4 separate regions of the Homo sapiens genome follow, and all the other regions are linked to region 1. The links are contacts of gene promoters, found by promoter capture Hi-C in blood cells and fetal thymus (Javierre and others, 2016). All regions are on one chromosome and are shown on one strand. Each heading gives the region's core, a stretch centred on a gene start or on the middle of the fragment in contact. The rest is flanking DNA. Distances are from core to core; before and after follow the strand shown.

Region 1 (2,730 bases), core at 76-2,575:
ACAGAGCCAAGATATGAACATAGGTCTGACGCTAAAGCCTGTGCCCTTTTTTCATCTCCAAATTACCACGTAATCATAAAATACTATTTTCACACATCATCCTGCTTAAACACACACATACACACACACACACCACACACACACAACCTTTAATGACCACCCTCCCCCATTTTCCTTCAGAACACAACCCAAATTTATTATCCTAGCATTCACTGTCTTGTACAACTTCCCTCACTTCCCAACACTTTCCTATAGGAACCCTGTGCTCCAGAGAAACTTATCTGCCGCCTCAGGCACATCCTGTACACCCTCAACTTCCTCCCTGAAATGCCCTCTCCTCTCCCCTCCCCTGGTTTAAATCCAGCCTTTCCTTCAGGTCCTAGCTAGAGTCCCACCCTCCTCCATTACACTTTTTCCTAACTTCCCCAGCCCCTCATCAGGTCTCCCTCGACCCCTGGAGCAGCCGCCTGTATCCTTGTTGACACGTGGTGTTTGCCATTCTGTTTTTCTTTGCGTTTATGTTTTCTCATCAAGCTGTAAACCTCTGCACTCCAGGAAATCGGCCTTCTCTTTTTTGTTTTTGTTTTTGGGTGTTTTTTTTTTTCCTTTCAGCATCCCAAGTAGCCCAGAGCCCTACAAATAGAAAGCGCTTGATAAATATGGGTTGTTTTGGATGAAAGATGATCTTCCCAGCTGGATGAGCTCTTTCCCTCTAGGGGTGAGGGACTGAGCTTCACCTCAACTTCACCTAATGTCTCACAGGAATGCCCCCTCTTAAACGCTCCTCAGGTCTTCTCTACCCCTTTCCCCCACCACCCCGGCCCAGGAGAGCCACTCAGAGCTCCCTCTCCGGAGTCACCCTCTCAGACCCAGGGCTATTTCTTTAGCTTGCTCTCGAACCCCGCCTTTACCCCAGAGCCGCTCCTCAGTCTCCTCCCCCAGGCTGCCTCTCAGGCCCCCTCTCCTCCAATGCCACTCCCTAGGACCCTCTCCCCAGGGTTCCGGACCCCCAACCCCGGATATGTTCCCCCAGGGCCATCCAGTTGTTCTACCTCCAGGATTACTGATTTAGCCTCTTCCCCCTCCTGCTCAGGGCTACCCCCAGACCCCGACCTCCAGTTCCACCCCTTCGGACCCTGCCTCTAGAACTGTTCTTTTAGCCTCTGCAACCCCCTCCCCAGCGCCGCTCCGCGGCCCCTGCCCCAGGGCTGGTCGGGGAGCCACTGCCCTCGCAGGTCCCGCCCGGGTGCTGCCCCCGCGCCCCCGGCCGCCCCCCACCGGGGCGGGGCGCGCGGAGGCGGGGGCGCGCTGGCGGCCGAGGCGGCGGCGGCGGCGGCGAAGGCAGGCGGGCCGGGCGCGGGCCCCGCCGCCGGGATGCCGAGGAGCCGGGGCGGCCGCGCCGCGCCGGGGCCGCCGCCGCCGCCGCCGCCGCCGGGCCAGGCCCCGCGCTGGAGCCGCTGGCGGGTCCCTGGGCGGCTGCTGCTGCTGCTGCTGCCCGCGCTCTGCTGCCTCCCGGGCGCCGCGCGGGCGGCGGCGGCGGCGGCGGGGGCAGGGAACCGGGCAGCGGTGGCGGTGGCGGTGGCGCGGGCGGACGAGGCGGAGGCGCCCTTCGCCGGGCAGGTGGGGCTGGCGCGCGGGGCCGGGGCGCGGGCTCGGGGCATCCGGGCAGGGCGGGGGGCGGCACCGGGGACGGGCCTGGGCCGGGCCGCACCTACTGCCGAGGTCGCGGAGGCGGCGCGCCGGGGGTCCGCGCCTTGGGTCCGGGCTGGCGCGGCCCAGGGCGGGGGCTGGGGAGGGCCTCGCCGAGGGCCGCCGAGGCCGGGAGCTGCTTCAGCACCGCGGACAGGGGCAGCGGGCGGGGGCCGAGCACGAGGGTCGGGTTTGTTGTGTTGGCAGTGGGGTGTGTGGCCTGCATGACTATGTGCGAGGGAAACCGTACAACGCCTCGGAGTAAATAGTAAGCGCAGCCAGTCTGTTGTGGGTTGGGAGAAGAAACCGAGGATGTTCAAGCTGGAGAAGGGGGAGGGGGAGGGCGGAGGAAGGACTCGATCACTGTCTTCGTAGCTGAAGGGCTGTCAGGTGGAGGTAGGATAGACTTGTTCTAGCTTGGCCCCACAGGGCAGAACTAGGGCCAGCGGGAGTGGGGGTTGCAAGAAGACAAATTTGGGCTCGATATAGGAAGAAGTTTGTAACAATTGGAGCTGCTCAACCAGCTTAGGAGGCGGCGAGCTGCTCATCACTGGCATGTGCAAGTAAAAGCTCTCGGAGGGGATTGGATGGAGGCATGCATAATGCTTGCATGGATGCATACATCATCATCACAATAATGCCAGCTAGCATTTACTGAACACTCACTATGTGCCAGGCCTGGTGCTATGTTTTATACGAATTATCCAATTCAATCCTCATAACTACTCTATGAAATAGCTGCAATTATTATCCCCATTTTACAGATGGGGATACAGACTCAAAGAGCTTAAGTAACTTGCCCAAGGTCACACAGCTAGTGAGTGATGGAATTGGAATTCTAACCTAGGCAGGCTGACTCTAGTCTCCCCTTATTTACCCATGACCTTATCCTATATCTCATGGGGGGTGCAGTTGGACTAATTTCTCTAGTATCTTCCAACCTAGAGGACTGCAATATTCTAATAAATGATGTTGGGACAATGGTGTTTTGCTGAGGAAAATCAGAGTGATAGCCTCGCCACCCTAAGAGATGGAGTATAT
Region 2 (2,730 bases), core at 123-2,622, 200 kb before region 1:
TATCCACCTTTTTTGATGATAACCATTCTAGTGAGTATGAAGTACTATATCATTGTGGGGTTTGTTTTTTCCTCTATCATCTAGACTACTTAAGTGCAGTGGCAGGATCACAGCTCACTGCAGCATTGAACTCTGGACCCAAACAATCCTCCCACCTCAGCCTCCCAAGTTGTCAGGACTATGGGCACGTGCCACCATGCCTGGCTAACCGAAACAAAATTTTTTTTTGTAGAGATGAGGTCTTGCTCTGTTGTTTGAGCTGGTCTTGAACAATCCTCCTGCCTTGGCCTCCCAAAGTATTGGGATTACAGGTGCCAGCCACTGTGCCTGGCCTCACTGTGGTTTTGATTTGCATTTCCCTGACGGCTAATGATGGTGAACATTTTTCACGTGCTTAATAATTATTTATATATCTTCTTTGGAGAAACATCTATTCAGATCCTTTGTCTATATTTTGAAATGGGTTTTTTTATTATTGTTATGAGAGTTCTTTATACATTCTAGATACAAATCCCTTATTAGATATATTATTTGCAAAGATGTCCCACCCTGCCTTACCCACAAAAAACGTTCTTCCATTCTGTGGGTTCTCTTTTCACTTTCCTCATTGTGTTTTCTGAAGAACAAAAAGTTTTAATTTTGATGAAGTCCAATTTATTATTTATCTGGTTGCTTGTGCTTCAGATGTCATTGTGTATGACAGCTAAATTGTTAAATCCAAGGTCATGAAGCTTTATCCTTATGTTTTCTTCTAAGGGTTTCACAGGTTTAGCTCTTACATTTAGGTCTTTGACCCTTTTAATTTTGTATATGACATAAGGCAGGGGATCTAACTTCATTCTTTCGCATGTGGACATCAAATGGTCCCAATACCATTTGTTGAAAAGACTACTACTGTTTCCACCAATGAATGGTCTTGGTACCCACTGAAAATCAATTGATCATAATAAGCATGAGGGTTTATTTCTGAACTCTCAACAATATTCCATTGATCAATATGTCTATCCTCAGGCCAGCAGCATAGTGTCTCGATTGCAGCTTTGTAGTAAGTTTTCAAGTCAGGATGTGAGTTGTCTTAGGTTGTTTTTTTTTTTTGAGACAGAGTCTTGCTGTCACCCAGGCTGGAGTGCAGTGGCACAATCACAGGTTACTGCAGCCTCAAACTCCTGGGCTCAAGCTACCCTCCCACCTCAGCCTCTTGAGTAGCTGGGACTATAGGTGGGTGTCACGAGGCTTGCCTAATTTTTAAATTTTTTATAGAGACAGGGGTCTCACTATGTTACCCAGGCTGGCCTCAAACTCCTGAGGCCAAGTGATCTTCCTGCCTCAGCCTCCCAAAGTGCTGGGATTACAGGCATGAGTCACTGTACCCGGCCTAGTTCAAGACTGTTTTTGTTAATCCAAGTCTCCTGCATTTCCACATGAACTTTAGGATCAGCTACTCCATTTGTGCAAAGTAGTCAGCTGAGAGTTATGACAGAAATTGTGTTGAATCTGTAAGGCTGATCTATAGATCAGAATGGGACTATCATTATCTTAACAATATTAATTTTCTGATTCAAAGACATGGGATGTCTTTACATTTATTTAGGGTTTAATTTCTTTCAATGATGTTTTAGAATTCTCAGAGTATAAGTTTTACACTTAAGTTCCTAAGTATTTTATTTTTTTGATCCTATTATAAATAAAATTGTTTTCTTAATTTTTGGTTTGTTGATTGCTACTCTATAGAAATACTACTCATTTTTTAATATTAGCCTTGTATTCTGAACCTTTGTTGAACCTATTTATTAGTTTACTGGTTTTTATAGTAGATTCCTTAGATTTTTCTACATATAAGATCATCCCATCTGTGAACAGTTTCACTACTTTTCTAATTTGCATGCCTTTAATTTCTTTTTCTTGCCTAACTGCCCTAGCCAGAACCTCCAATACGATGCTGAAGAGAAGTGGCAATGGCACTGCCACTTCCAGAAACGATCAGGAACTCGTCTTGTTCCTGATCTTAGTGGTAGAAGCTTTCAATTTTTTGCCATTAGGTATGTCAGCCATGGGTTTTTGTAGATGCCCTTTAACAGGCTGAGGAAGTTCTCTCCTGAGTTTTTGTTTTTACCATGAAAGGGTGTTGGATTTTGTCAAATGCTTTTTTGCTCCTATGGAAACGATCATGTGGTTTTTGTCCTTTATTCTATTAACACAGTGTATTACATAAACTGATTTTCAAATGTTGAACCAAACTTGCATAAATCCATTTGGTCATGGTATACAATCCTTGTATGTTGCTATACTTGGTGTGCTAGTATTTTGTTGAAGATTTTTGCACCTATAATCATAAGAGATACTGGTCTTGTGATGTCTTTATCTGGTTTTGGTATCATGATAATATGACCTCAAAGAGTAAGTTGGGAACTGTTCCTTCCTCTTTTATTTTCTATTAGAGTCTGGAAAGTATTGGTGTGAATTCTTCTTGAAACATTTGGTAGAATTAACCAGTGAAGCCATGTGGGCCAGGACTTTTCTTTGTGGGCAGTTTTTCATTATTTATTCAATCTCGTTGTTATACTTCAGGTTTTCTATTTCTTCCTGAGTTAGCTGCAATAGTTTGTGTCTTTTAACTTGCTCATTTCATCTAGGTTATTTAGTTTATTGGCTTATATTGTTTATAGTATTCCCTTAGAGTCCTCTTACTTTCTTAAGGTTGGTTGTAACGTACCTTCTTTCATTTCTAAT
Region 3 (2,730 bases), core at 168-2,667, 180 kb before region 1:
TGACATAGTGACGATCCCATCTCAAAAAAGGAAAAAAAAAAAAAAAGAAAAGAAAAGAAAAAGAAAAAAAACTAGATGATTTAGTAAGGGCCTCAGAGCTATAATCTCAAAATTCTGAGAACTTGGAGACTTTACCTTGATTGATTTCAGCTGCAGAAGGCCCCAAACTCAAGCTCTTCTTCTGTTGAGCATTTTTGGCAAGAAGCGTGTGCTTGTCATCATTCCCTGTATCCATCTCTGAAATGGTGACAGCCAGAATCCGGCAGAAATTAGCGAGCTGCTGCTGATCGAAATTGGATACTAAGGAACTCAGATTGGGGACTTCATCTAGTCGGATCATTTCCTACAGAAGACAAAAATGAAACAATCCCCATGCTCAATTCACTCAAGAGATTGGATGTGCCTCTCTTTCGCATCCCCTTACATACGGGGCTTAGTGGCTAGATCACTTAGGTTCCTATCCCAGCTCTGTAACTTGCAGCTCTGAAACTTTGGTTAAGTTACAAAAACCTTTCGAGTCTTTGCTTGTTTATCTGTAAAACGGAACTAATCTACCTCACAGGATTAGTCTGAGGACTAAATTTACCTTTTGAGCACCACTGTTTTCAATTGTTCTTGTGGTATATTTTGCCTATTTAAAAAAAAAGGAAATGCCTACCACTCAAGTTTTGGAAATCATAAATTACCATTCTTGCTACAGATTTGCTTTTTTAAAAAATAAAATACTTCAAATATAGCTAAAGGCCTCTGTGTATCCCCCATCCAGTCGCATTTTTTTCTCTCCCTGCAGACGTAAACATTATTTTGAACTCTGTGTTTATTATTCCCGTGCATGTTTTTATACTTACAAATATTTCCATTAAAATACATGTTACTGCTCTGCATGCACAGTGTGAATGATACCATACTATACCTTACTTTTCATCCAACATTTTGAAGTTTATCTACACTGATACAAGCAGCTGATTCAATCACTTCCCGCCGTTTTACCCCACAGTTTAATCATCTCTCTCTTTTAAGAGACAGGGTCTCACTCTGTTGCTCAAGCTGCGGAGCAGTAGTGTCATCATAGCTTACTGCAGACTCAAACTCCTAGGCCCAAGCAATCCTCCTACCTCAGCTTCCCAAGTAGCTAGGACTACAGGTGCGTGTCATTACACCTGGCTACTTTTTTAATATTTTTTTTTTTGAGATGGTATCTCATTGTCGCCCAGGCTGGAGTGCAGTGGCGCAATCTTGACTCACTGCAAACTCCACCTCCTGGGTTCAAGTGATTCTCCTGCCTCAGCCTCCCAAGTAGTGGGGATTACAGGCGCCCGCCACCACGCCTGGCTAATTTTTGTATTTTTTAGTAGAGATGGGGTTTCACCATGTTGGCCAGGCTGGTCTTGAACTCCTGACCTCAGATGATCCATCCACCTTGGCCTCCCAAAGTGCTGGGATTACAAGCGTGAGCTACCACGCCTGGCCAATACTTTATTTTTATGGAGACAGGGTCTCACTATTGTTGCCCAGGCTGGAACTCCTGGACTCAAGCAATCCTCCCACCTTGGCCTCCTAAACTGCTGGGATTACATGTATGAGCCACTGTGCCTGACCCTTTCTTCTTTTAATACATATTTAGGTAAACTACAGTTTTTCACTATTAAACAATGTTGCAATGAACATTCTTACAGGTACTCTCTGTGTACACATGTATGTGACCATTTATCCAGAGTGAGAGCAAGAATTCTTGTCTTTTTCTTGACTTTACCAGAAATAATTCCAAAACATTAAAATTAAGTTCAATATTTGCTGTAAATTTTAATATCCTATAAGTTAAATTTTAATAAATACCCTATATATAGTTTATAAGTTTTCCTTCTATTGCTAGCTTTTATTAAGAATGATAATTTTATGGAATGCCTTGTGCTATTTGGTTCTATTCTCACTCATTACTCCTTAAAATCTGTAAATGGCATGTACTACATCAACTTTTCTCATTTTGAACCATCCCCGTGCTACTCAGATAACACCTGCTATCCTTCATCCCACTAATTTACTTCCACTGGATTGGGTGTTTCTCTTTCACTGCACAGATCACATGAACTTTTAATAATCTGTTCCTGCATCTATTTCCCAAATAATCTGACCATACTTTGATGAAGGCATATATCCTACCCTTTCTCCTGAGACTCAATGCACAGGACCTGGTAGCAAGGGTATCAGTGAATGTGCCCAAAACGAGTGCATGATTCCTAGAAGCTCTCATGAATCCCATACTCGCCTCTATTTCTAGTAATGGAGGACAGGAATTTGCTGTGCAGGGGGCATTGGGGAACAACTGCTTCCACTTTTCCTTTTCCCTAGTACAAAACAAATGTAAGCTACTACTATTATTGGCAACTGTAACTTGTAGCTCACCAGTTCCTCTAGCCCTGTCTAACTCAGTATATGGTTCCCAAAACAGGTCCCACCACCCCCAGCCCACTTCTTATGGTTTTTTGTTTTGTCTTAAATTTTAAGATTTTTTTTTTTAAGGCGGAGTCTCACTGTGATGCCCAGGCCAGAGCGCAATGGCACAATCTCTGCTCACTGCAACCTCTGCCTCCTGGGTTCAAGCAATTTTTCTGTCCCAGCCTCCCAAGTAGCTGGGACTACAGGCATGCACCACCATGCTGGGCTAATTTTTATATTTTTAGTAGAGACAGGGTTTCACCCTGTTGGCCAGGCTGGTCTCCTGACCTCAAG
Region 4 (2,730 bases), core at 156-2,655, 130 kb before region 1:
AAGGCATTTCCAGGGATACAAACAGGGCATTGGTGAGCTGTCCGGGCAGCAGCCAGCCTTACCAGGGAATCCACAGCCCAGGGATTCCACCCAGAGCTCTTCCTGAGGCATATGGTGATGGATATTCTCACCCTTGTCGCGGTGAGGAGACAGGATCCTGACTAATTTCACAGTTCACATGGCCCTCCAGGTTTCCCTTGGCACTCATCATGCTAGGGACAAATCTTCCCACCTCAGCTTTGACCCAACTGCAAATGTCACTTTCCATTCCTCAGTTCCTATCTTTGTCAGTCTAGCCTGGCCCAGGCATTCACCAAAGCTGGGTATTCACTGGGTCAAAAATGACAACCTCAAATTCAGTCCTTACAGATACCATGTGACCATGAAGTAAGGGGACATGTTTCCAGAAACCTCTGTGGAAAGACACTCTTTTCCACTTCACCTCTGCTCTGCCAGCCTTTTCCGTAGAAACTAGCTGAGGCTAGGCGCGGTGGCTCAGGCCTGTAATCCCAGCACTTTTGGAGGCCGAGGCGGGCAGATCACGAGGTCAGGAGTTCGAGACCAGCCTGGTCAATATGGTGAAACCCCGTCTCTACCAAAAACACAAAAATTAGCTGGGCGGGGTGAAGCGCGCCTGTAGTCCCAGCTGCCCTGGAGGCTGAGGCAGGAGAATTGCTTGAACCCGGGAGGCGGAGTTTGCAGTGAGCCGAGATCGCGCCACTGCACTCCAGCCTGGGCCACAGAGCAAGACTCTGTCTCAAAAAAAAAAAAAAAAAGCTGAGTGTCTCTCACCACCAGAGGGCGAAGTACCTCTCCCACCAGAGGTCTGTTGATGTCAATTTTAATCAGCACTAGAAAAAAAATGAAGCTCCCAAACTGGCTAATTTTTTTTCCACCGTAATCCCAAATGGCTTAACCAAACATGATGATGCTATTCAGAGAACATTAACTCTTGTAAATAAATCGCCAAACTCATCTCAATTGGGCAGACAGATTTTCTGGGACTTTTTTTTTTTTTTTTTTTTTTGAAGTCTTGCTCTGTGGCCCAGCCTGGAGTACAGTGGTGTGATTATAGCTCACTGCAGCCGCCAAGCTCCTGGGCTCAAGCAATCCTCCCGCTTCAGCCTCCCAAAGTGCTGGGATTACAGGCATGAGTCATGGCACCCTGCCAAGAAGTCACTTTAATCAAAGCAACTGGCACTGTTATATCAGGCCATGGTAACAGCTGTCCCATGCAACTATGCATTGTCCTGTGGTGTCATTTTTTACAGTGATTTTTTTTTACATTACATTTCTAATGTACAACCTCTCCATGATTTGTCTTTTAAATGTTTGTTAAGTACTATCTTATGTGCCAGGCACTGTTATAGGTGCTGTGGATATTGTGCTAAATAAAATAAACAAAATTTCCTGCCCTCATGGGGCTTATACTTCTGGGTAAGATCTACCCTTTATTGAGCACTTACCATTGGCCAAGCACTTTCTTTGCACTATCTTATTATTCTCGCAGCATTTTTGGGGAAGTTTTTCAAATCTACAGAAAGTTAAAAGATACACCATTAACACTCATATACCCTTTGCTTAGACTTGTCAGCTACTAAAACTATATTTTATCTTTCTCTCTGTGTATATATACACATATATGTACATATATGTGTATATATACATATACATATATACACATATGTACATATATGTGTATATATACATATACATATATACACACGTGTATATATACATATACATATATACACACGTGTGTATATACATATACATATATACACACGTGTGTATATACATATACATATGTACACACGTGTGTATATATACATATGTACACACGTGTGTATATATACATATGTACACACGTGTGTATATATACATATGTACACACGTGTGTATATATACATATGTACACACGTGTGTATATATACATATGTACACACGTGTGTATATATACATATGTACACACGTGTGTATATATACATATACACACGTGTGTATATATACATATACACACGTGTGTATATATACATATACACACGTGTGTATATATACATATACACACGTGTGTATATATACATATATACACGTGTGCCTATATACATATATACATGTGTGCCTATATACATATATACATATATGTGTATATATACATATATACATATGTGTATATATACATACACATATATACATATACGTACATATGTGTATATATACATATACATACATATATATGTGTATATATACATATATACACATACATATATGTATATATACATATATGTATATATACAGCTCTTTCCATATATGTATCTCTCTCTATACTTCATTTATACGTAGAGAGGGTTTGTGTTAGTTTTGCTAAACATTTTTTTTTTTTTAGACAGGGTCTCGCTCTGTTGCCCAGGCTGGAGTGCAGTGGCACGATCATAGCTCACTGTAGCCTTGGGCTCCTGGGCTCAAGGGATCCTCCCATCTCAGCCTCTCAAAGTGTTGGGATTACAGATGTGAGCCACTGCACCCATCCTGCTAAGCCATTTTTTGCTAAACCATTTGAAAGTAAATTGTAGATATTATGACACTTCACCTGCATATTTTAGAATGTATCTCCTAAGATCAAGGACATGCTCCTAAAAACTATGATACCATCACACCCAAGAAATTTAATATTGATACAATTTATCTTTTTTTAAATTTATTTATTTAAGACAGGGTTTCACTCTTTTT

Evidence for each region. The method cuts DNA at HindIII sites, captures the fragments that hold promoters and counts their contacts. A CHiCAGO score of 5 or more calls a contact.
Region 2: a fragment that was not itself captured here is called in contact with the fragment with the promoter of MMP24 in region 1 in 1 of 17 cell types (M1 macrophages); the score reaches 6.7 in M1 macrophages.
Region 3: a fragment that was not itself captured here is called in contact with the fragment with the promoter of MMP24 in region 1 in 1 of 17 cell types (M1 macrophages); the score reaches 5.1 in M1 macrophages.
Region 4: a contact is called between a fragment that was not itself captured here and the fragment with the promoter of MMP24 in region 1, in 2 of 17 cell types (megakaryocytes and M2 macrophages). The highest score is 5.8, in megakaryocytes.

The regions. Positions count from the first base shown.
Region 1 is chr20:35,225,365-35,228,094 of GRCh38, forward strand. It overlaps MMP24 (matrix metallopeptidase 24), which reads left to right and starts at 1,326. Exons shown (of 9, transcript NM_006690.4): 1 at 1,326-1,620. The coding sequence starts at 1,375. All of the region lies in intron 3 of MMP24-AS1-EDEM2 (MMP24-AS1-EDEM2 readthrough), which reads right to left. The HindIII fragment of the contact is 9,584 bases long and covers 1-2,730 here.
Region 2 is chr20:35,025,140-35,027,869 of GRCh38, forward strand. The region is part of intron 8 of TRPC4AP (transient receptor potential cation channel subfamily C member 4 associated protein); the gene reads right to left. Among named protein-coding and RNA genes, the nearest start is that of MIR499B, 36 kb to the left of the region's middle. The HindIII fragment of the contact is 1,287 bases long and covers 730-2,016 here.
Region 3 is chr20:35,044,370-35,047,099 of GRCh38, forward strand. It overlaps TRPC4AP (transient receptor potential cation channel subfamily C member 4 associated protein), which reads right to left. Exons shown (of 19, transcript NM_015638.3): 7 at 136-343. Among named protein-coding and RNA genes, the nearest start is that of TRPC4AP, 47 kb to the right of the region's middle. The HindIII fragment of the contact is 4,223 bases long and covers 1-2,730 here.
Region 4 is chr20:35,095,595-35,098,324 of GRCh38, forward strand. No RefSeq gene overlaps it. Among named protein-coding and RNA genes, the nearest start is that of TRPC4AP, 4.2 kb to the left of the region's middle. RefSeq lists a silencer at 748-877. The HindIII fragment of the contact is 4,290 bases long and covers 1-2,730 here.